Regions from separate parts of the Homo sapiens genome. Here region 2 is linked to region 1. Evidence: promoter capture Hi-C in human tissues and cell types (Jung and others, 2019). All regions are on one chromosome and are shown on one strand. Each heading gives the region's core, a stretch centred on a gene start or on the middle of the fragment in contact. The rest is flanking DNA. Distances are from core to core; before and after follow the strand shown.

What was found. Contacts are between HindIII fragments. The study calls those that stand out against the background at their distance.
Region 2: a fragment that was not itself captured here is called in contact with the fragment with the promoter of SULT2B1 in region 1 in 1 of the 25 tissues and cell types used here (dorsolateral prefrontal cortex).

The regions. Positions count from the first base shown.
Region 1 is chr19:48,549,738-48,554,177 of GRCh38, reverse strand. SULT2B1 (sulfotransferase family 2B member 1) reads right to left here and starts at 2,006. Exons shown (of 7, transcript NM_177973.2): 1 at 1,855-2,006. The coding sequence starts at 1,925. RefSeq lists a silencer at 1-146 and enhancers at 1-273, 2,062-2,586. The HindIII fragment of the contact is 26,692 bases long and covers 1-4,440 here.
Region 2 is chr19:48,420,739-48,425,178 of GRCh38, reverse strand. It overlaps GRIN2D (glutamate ionotropic receptor NMDA type subunit 2D), which reads right to left. Exons shown (of 14, transcript NM_000836.4): 11 at 3,234-3,394. Among named protein-coding and RNA genes, the nearest start is that of GRWD1, 23 kb to the left of the region's middle. RefSeq lists an enhancer at 73-367. The HindIII fragment of the contact is 4,602 bases long and covers 132-4,440 here.

The DNA.
Region 1 (4,440 bases), core at 757-3,256:
TGGAAGTTTGAGGTCCTAAGGGCACCCCCCCAGGGCTCTGCAGCCATCAGGGCTGGAGGAGTCTTGCAGGGGAGGGCTATTCTCCCCCACGATGACGAAACCGAGCTTCGCAGAGGGTCAGTGACTAAACCAAGGTCACCCACTTAGCGAGGTCACTCAGGGCGTTTTATGACCAGCTGGCAGAGCCGTCGCGGAGATAAAAAAAAGGCTCCCAGGTGCCTGGCTGGGGTGGGGGTGAGGCCTTCCCAGAGGCGGGAACCCTGGAGGCGAGCTGGCTTATCTGTTTATCTCTGGAGAGAAGAATTGCAGAACTCAGAAGTCCTGGATTAGACAATGTTGAGTAAAGAATGCTGGGGCCTCCCTCACGCAGAACTGGGCCAGCCTGGTCACAGCTCTCAGCCCAGGAGGCCCAGAGACATCAGGAAGCTTGTCTAGGTCACACAGCAATCAGGATTGAACTGCTCCTGTCTCTGGAGTCCCAGGCACCCAGGAAGGCCTCTTCATGCCCCAGCTTCTGGCTGAGGGAGGGGAGGGGAGGGCCTGAAACAGTGGAATGAAATGAGGCGGCCAGGCGTGGTGGCCCACGCCTGTAATCCCAGCACTTTGGGAGGCCGAGGCAGGTGGATCACCTGAGGCAAGGAGTTCAAGAACAGCCTGGCCGACATGGTGAAACCCTTTCTCTACTAAAAATACAAAAATAAAATTAGCCGGGCATGGTGGCGGGCTCCTGTAATCCCAGTTACTTGGGAAGCTGAGGCTGGAGAATCACTTGAACCCAGGACGCGGAGGCTGCAGTGAGCTGATATCGTGCCATTGCACTCCAGCCTGGGCAACAAGAGCGAAACTCCATTTCAAAAAAATAAAATAAAATAAGAAAGGAATGAGGCAACTGGGCTGAGAACAGGTCTTGGTTGTCTCCCTCCTCACAGCCCACGGTGGCTGGAGGGGCCCAGGCTGCCAGGAAGGTCTCACTTGGCAAGAGTGCAAGATACGAGGGGTTGGAGATTGTCTCAGCAGTTTGCTGTGTGATCTGGGGCAGGCTGCCTGCCCTCTCTGGGCCTCTGCGCTCCCCTAAAAGATGGAGCCACGGGGAGGGGTGTAAAGGGGACATCACCAAGGCTGTGAGGAGCAGGAGAAACCACAGGCTCTGGCGTGAGACAGACCGGGTTCAGATTTGCTTCTAGCTGCGTAATTGCGGTCATGTCGCGTTCCCTCCCAGCCTCAGTTTCCCCATCTGGAAAGCAGGTACTGTCAAAGTGTCTGACTCATCCCCAGGAAGAGGGAGTCACGCTGAGCTCATGGAAGTGGGCAGTGCTCTGCCCTAACCACTGTTAGGAGACCTGAAGAGTCCAGAGCCTGCCCTCTCCGCCCCAAGTGCCCTAGAACACAGCTTCTCCCTCTGGGGGTCTCAGCAGCATCCCAGTCTCTCCCATTTCACCCCCAAGCACCCCCGTTATTTCAGGGCTTGCATGGGGTGTCCTGGGTACTACAGGCTGTTGTGTTTCCTGAGCAACTACTATGCACCAAGCTGCCTGCTCTCTTCCACTGCTCTATCAGGGAGACACAGGGCTTGTGGGCCCCTTTGACAGACAGAAAAACTGAGGCCCGGAGAGCGACAGGGACACCCCAGGCATCCCCACTGGTGACTCAACACGGTCGGGTCCTCACTCCCTTCTCAGGAGGGACCTATACACCACACTGGATGCCCCAGCCCAGCCCAGCCCCTCCAGCTAAGTCTGGGCCAGGCCTGCGGCTGCGGGTGGCTGGAGGCCACCCTTGCCACAGTCCCCGGCTCCCCCAAACAGCCACCTCCTCCCTGGGATCTCCTGGCTCCTGCCCAGGTCTGGGCCTCACCTGATTTCCGAGATGTCATCTTCATAGGTGTCCCACAAGCCCGGGATCTGGGGCTCGGCGGGCCCGTCCATGGCAGGTGGGTGAGGGTGGGGAGGGGAGGACGAGCAGGGAGCAGGCGGCACAGAGGCCAGGTGTGCGCAGCGACAGCGTCTGCCACCTGGGGAGCCCGCCAGGTGCCTACTCCGTGCCCGGCCCAAGGGGAGGGGCAGCACCCAGCCGGTTCTCCCAGCTGCTACCCACGCCTCCAACAGCGGGGAGAGGCCAGAGGGAGCCACCCTGCTCTGAGGGCGGGGAGGAGCAGTGATGGGCACGTCCTGGCGTCTGGTGCTCAGCTGGGGGCAGAGTCCAGGGGGTCAGTGCCAAGCCCACGCCAGAACCTTCCGGGCTGGCAGTTCTGGGCCTGTGGGCACCCACCTGGAGCCCACGTTGCTCATTTGGGAAATGGCGCTGATCTCGCCCATCTCAGCGAGTTCATTCATTCATTCATTCATTCACTCATTCATTCCTTTATTCATTTGAGAAATATTTACTGAGCATCTCCTGTCTGCCAGGCGCTGTTCCAAGCACTAGGCCACCGCTGGGGAAGGGGCAGACAGAAACTTGCCCTCACGGGCTGACGCGTAAGGGGCACCCTGGAAACAGACACAGGGACAGAGGCACAGCCAGGACCACGGCAGCACAGACAGGGCGGGAGCCAGGGAGAAAGGGAGAGGGCAGAGGGCATGGGAGACAGAGACCAGGAGGGGACTGAGATGCACAGGGGCCAGAGACCTTGAGAGACGCAACAGAGATACACGGAGGGCGGAGACAGAGACACACGGACACCCAGAGGAGACAGAGACACACAGGGGTCAGAGACCCTGAGAGACCCAGCAGCGATATACAGAGGGCAGAGACAGAGATACATAGAAAGGTCAGGGACAGGGAGAGACACAGATATGAGAGACAACTGCCAGATATGGTTGGGCGTGAGAGTCTGAAGGTCACAGCCCTGGTTCAAATCCCAGCTCCAGTGCCTCCCAGCTGTGGGGCCGGGAACCATCTTGCTCATAGGCTCATCTTGCCTTAGTTTCCCCATCTGTGAATGGCACCCATCGGGCTGTTGTGAGGACTGAGGGAGACACTCTCAGCTGCTGGTGGAGGATCTGGTACACAGTGAGCTCAGCATAGACGGTGTTCTCTTCTCTTCTGCCCCCACCCCAAACCCTGGCCCTCCCCAGCTGTTGGTCCCTGACCCCTCAGAGTCCTGGAGTCATGAAGCCAGTCTCCCCACCAGTGGTGGCAGGTGCCTGTAATCCCAGCTACTTGGGAGGCTGAGACACGAGAATCGCTTGAACCTGGGAGGTGGAGGTTGGAGTGAGCTGAGATCACATCACTGCACTGCAGCCTGGGCGACAGAGAGAGACTCCATCTCAAAAAAAAAAAAAAAATGCCAAAAGAAAGCCTGTGCAATGGCTCACGCCTGTAATTCCAGCACTTTGGGAGGCCGAGGCGGGTGAATCGCCTGAGGTCAGGAGTTCAAGACCAGCCTGGCCAACATAGTGAAACCCCATCTCTACTAAAAATACAAAAAATTAGCTGGGCATGGTGGCAGGTGCCTGTAATCCCAGCTATTCGGGAGGCTGAGGCAGGAGAATCACTTGAACCCTGGAGGCAGAGGTTGCAGCGAGCCAAGATTGTACTGTTGCACTCCAGCCTGGGCAACAAGAGTGAAACTCCATCTCAAAAAGAAAAAAAAAAAAAGCCAAAACAAATAAAATTGTATATACTGACCAATTATTGTTGCATAGGTGAGGGGGATGGAAGACGTCAGACTCACCTAACAGATGCAGGAAGGGGGCCCAGAGAGGTAATGTGGCTTCCCCCAGGGCACACAGCACTGCCCGCCTTCACTCTGATGGTAAGCAGAAAAGGAGGGTTCTGGGGTATCCCATCTCTCAATTCACCACCCCAAGACCCGTCTCCAGGAGGCTGAGCTGTGGGAGCACCCGCCCCTGCCCCCAGCCACTACCGAGTCCACATCCTCAACATTCTGCCTTGATACTTTCAGTGTTAAGCCTTGATGTTCCTGCTGATAAAAAGGCTCTCTTGCAGGGTGGGTGGAAGGGTGAGAGGGCCAGGCATCCCCCTCTGAGGCTGAGTGAACCCCTCTGATGTCGGAGGTGGGGGACTGAACCATGACACCCCACCAGGCCTCCGGCTGGGCTGTCTTCACCTTTGTTTTCTATTCAATGACCCTTTGTCCCTGGCTCTGTGTGCTGCTGGGGTGGGGGGTTAGGGAGAGTCTGGGGAAGGGAATGCCCAGGTCCTTAGGGATCCTGAGAGGGAAACTCGCAGGCAGGTGCGGAGGCATCCCCGGGGCACAGGAAGGTTGGGGAGCAGTAGGGCCTGAGGTTGTGCCTGAGTGGGCAATGGAAAGAAACTGGCCAAACTAGGCGGCCTAAGACCCAGGGGAGGCTCCTACTGCAGGGCCTTTGCCCTTGCTATTCCCGCATGTTCCTGATACCTGGGAGCTTCGTGGGCTCCTATCGTCTGACTCTGCCCAGTGTCACCTCCCCCAGGCTCGTCCACCAACTTCTCCATTCC
Region 2 (4,440 bases), core at 1,183-3,682, 130 kb after region 1:
CTGGCAGTGTGAGGTATCCCTGAAGGGGTAAAAGAGGAAAGTGATTCTGTTTGCAGCCATCCCTGCCTTCTGAGGAAGGCGCAAGTGAAGCAGAGGTGGGAGGTGGCAGCCTGGAAAGGCACCCTGTTTTGTGTGAGAGAGAGAGAGAGAGAGAGAAGAGAGAATCTGGAATTCTCAGGGTCCTTCCTGGAGGGAAGGGCTGGCGAGAAGAAAACGGAAGAAGGGGGAAGGGGGAGAGATGAGTCAGCAGGCTGGCTGGGGAGAATGCTCTGGGTGAGTAAGGAAGTGAAAAAGTCCCAGGGTCCTGGGGGGCGGCCAGCGCCCTTTTATATTTTCTGTTCATTATGTTGACTAGGAAACTTTTTGCATTTGGGTGATGTCGACCTGGGCGGTCCAGTGCAGCAGTGACACGCCACTAGGGCTGTGGATCACTTGAAATGTGGTCACTCTGAACCTAGATGTGCTGTGAGTGTAAAATGCCACAGATATCAAAGACAGCGTGTGGGGAAAAAAATTATGTAAACGGTCTCACCCATGTTTATACTGATTACGTGTCAAAATAATATTTTGGACATAGTTAGGTAAAATATATTATTAAAAGTAATTTCCAGCCAGGCGCGGTGGCTCACGCCTGTAATCCCAGCACTTTGGGAGGCTGAGGCGGGTGGATCACGAGGTCAGGAGATCGAGACCATCCTGGCTAACACGGTGAAACCCCGTCTCTATTAAAAATACAAAAAATTAGCTGGGCGTGGTGGTGGGCGCCTGTAGTCCCAGCTACTCGGGAGGCTGAGGCAGGAGAATGGCGTGAACCCGGGAGGCGGCGCTTGCAGTGAGCCGAGATTGTGCCACTGCACTCCAGCCTGGGCAACAGAGCGAGACTCTGTCTCAAAAAAAAAAAAAAAAAAAAAAATTTTTTTTTTTGTGAGTCAAGGGGGTCTCACTATGTTTCACAGGCTGGTCTTGAACTCCTGGTCTTAAGTGATCCTCTCACCTTGGCCTCACAAAGCTTTAGGATTACAGGTGTGAGCCACTGCATTGGGCATTAGAAATTTTTTTAAGCCAGGCATGGTGGCTCACGCCTCTAATCCCAGCACTTTGGGAGGCTGAGGCAGGCAGATCACCTCATGTCAGGAGTTCAAGACCAGCCTGACCAACATGGTGAAACCTCATCTCTACCAAAAATACAAAAATTAGCCAGGCATAGTAGTGCACGCCTGTAATCCCAGCTACTCAGGAGGCTGAGGTGGGAGAATTGCTTGAACCCAGGGAAGGCGGAGGTTGCAGTGAGCTGAGATCGAACTACTGCACTCCAGCCTGGGCAACAGAGTGAGATCCTGTCTCAAAACAAACAAAAACAGAAATCAGATCATACCCTTCCTTACGTAAAATCTCCACACCTCAAGGCTTCTCACCGCCTTTAGCATAAAGTCCAGCCCTGACCTTGGCCTCATGCCCAGAATCCTCCCCTCATCTACTCTCTCACCTCAGCTCCTTGCCCTTCAACCACACTGGCCTTCTTGCTGTTCCTCCAGTAAACCAACACTGCACCTTCCTCAGGCCCTTTGCACACTCTGTTCCCTCCGTCTGAAGGCTCTGCTTCCGGAAGTCCACCTGGCTAGCTCTTTCACCTCCTGCAGGGCTCTGCACAAATGTCACCTCCTCCGAGAAGCCCACCCTGAACACCCTGGTGAAAATATCCCAGCCCTGCCGCCCTCTAGCTCACCATCACTTTCTGAAGAGATCTTGATTTTTCTGTTTGCATGTTTATTGTTCATTTCCCACCTCTAGACCTAGGAATCGGGTCTATTTGTTCACCGCTTAGCGTACAGCAGAGGATAAGAAAAATGCACACGGAAGGACTGAGTAAATGCAGGACGGGGAGAGAGTTACTGTGCTCAGCCTTGTTGTATTCGTGGGCTGCACTTTGGGGCCTGAACTCAACTTTTTTTGTATTGTTTTCTTTTTGAGACGGAGTCTGTCTCTGTTGCCCAGGCTGGAGTGCAATGGCACAGTCTCGGCTCACTGCAACCTCCGCCTCCTGCATTCAAGCGATCCTCCTGCCTCAGCCTCCCAAGCAGCTGAGATTACAGGCGCCCGCCACCACGCCCGGCTAATTTTTGTATTTTAAGTAGAGACAAGGTTTCATCATGTTGGCCAGGCTGTTCTCAAACTCCTGACCTCAAATGATCTGCCCGTCTCGGCCTCCCAAGAGCCTGTTGCCGCACCCAGCCTAATTTTTGTATTTTAAGTAGAGATGGGGTTTCACTATGTTGGCCAGGTGGTCTCCAACTCCTGACCTGAAGTGATCTGCCCGTCTCCGCCTCACAAAGTGCTGGGATTATAGGCGTGAGCTACTGCGCCTGGCCTCTGAATTTAACTTCATCCCTATGATTTGGGAAAGGGATGTAAAAAGATAAGAAACACAATCTAAGCATTGATTCCAGTGAGTTCAGGTCTAATGATAATGATAATATCAGCAAACACCTATAGTGCACCGGGCACTGTTCTAAATAAATAAATAAATGTTCTGAGTGGACTAACTAGTTTAATTCTTTTTTTTTTTTTTGAGACGGAGTCTCGCTCTGTCGCCAGGCTGGAGTGCAGTGGCATGATCTCGGCTCACTGCAACCTCCGACTCCCAGGTTCAAGCGATTCTCCTGCCTCAGCCTCCCAAGTATCTGGGACTACAGGCGCGTGCCACCACGCCCAGCTAATTTTTGTATTTTTTGTAGAGACCAGGTTTCACCATGTTGGCCAGGATGGTCTCGATCTCCTGACCTTGTGATCCGCCTGCCTTGGCCTCTGAAAGTGCTGGGATTACAGGCATGAGCCACCGTGCCCGGCTTACTAGTATAATTCTTGTAACAACCTTATGATCATTACAGTGGGGATACTCTTGTTATCCTCATTTTACAGAGGAGGAAACAGAGGTTCAGAGAGGCTGAGTAACTTGCCCAAGGTCACAAAGCCAAGAAGGGGAAGAGCAAAGATTTGAGCCCCATCAGTCTCACCCCAGAATCCAGAAATACTGCATCCCAGAAAATATCCCAAGGAGCCTGCTCCTGGGAGGAGGAGTCCACTTCCACCCTCAGTGACCTCCGCCCTCCAAGCTGACCCACCCAGGGCTGACCTCTGGGACTGAATGAATGAACCTGGACCCCTTGCCATCTTTGAGCATCCTCAGGTCCCCAGCGGCCCAACCCCCACCCCCGGCCCGAGTCTGCGCTGACCCTGCCTTGAGCTGAGTGAGCGCTTCCTCTACGCGGGGCTGGTTGTAGCGCACCATGTAGCTGTGCATGTCGGGATAGTTGCTGCGGATGTTCTTCTCCGTGGAGCCGTTGGGCACGGTCCCAAACTTCAGGGGCGGGTACTGCTCCTGGGGCCTCTGGAACTGGGGCAGAATGGGGAGTGATTAGGGCACCCTCCGCAGGGACATCCCTAACATAAATCACCCATTCTGAGACACACCCGCTATCTGGCAGACACCCCAGTCCCAGGAGTGTTCAATATTTCTCAACACTCGCTCACTACATTAGGGAATGCTTTTCCACTCCCACCCAGCACACACGGTTGCAGACACGTGATCCAAAAGTTCACGAGAAGCCTCCCTGAGGCCCCTGATGTGCCAGGTGTTAAGTCTTCACTTACTGAATCGCGGGAGGTCCTGGGAGTAGAGGCTGGCATGGCAGGAGCTGGGAGCTGTTGCTATTTACCAATCCGTTCAGAAATAGTTCACTTTTTTTTTTTTAAACGGAGTCTTGCTCTTGTTGCCCAGGCTGGAGTGCAATGGCACACTGTCAGCTCACTGCAACCTCCGCCTCCCAGGTTCAACTGATTCTCCTGCCTCAGCCTCCCGAGTAGCTGGGATTACAGGCACATACCACCATGCCCAGCCAGTTTTGTATTTTTAGTAGAGATGGGGTTTCTCCATGTTGGTCAGGCTGGTCTCGAACTACCAACCTCAGGTGATCCGCCCGCCTTGGCCTCCCAAAGTGCTGGGATTACAGGCATAAGCCACCGCGCCCAGACAACTAAAACAAGTTTTGTAAAACCAAACTTATACATAAGATGCAGGCAACTATTCTATTCTACTCCATTCCATTAAAAAATGCTTATTGCAACCCATCAAACTGATTTCTCAAGCCTCTAATAGGTCATGACACCCAGCTAGTTAATCACTTTAGTCTCAAAGTATGCTCTGCAAACCACCAGTCCCTCAACAAACGGTGATTGCAGTGAGATGTGTACAGGAATGGAGAGAGTGAGCATTTAGAGTGATTTGACAGAATTCTTTTTCGTCTGTTGAATCTAATAAATAAAAATGTGAGTTTGGCTTTTTTTTAGGCAGAGTCTCGCTCTGTCACCCAGGCTAGGAATCAGTTCTATTTGTGGCGTAATCATGGCTCACTGTAACCTCCGCCTCCCGGGTTCAAGCGA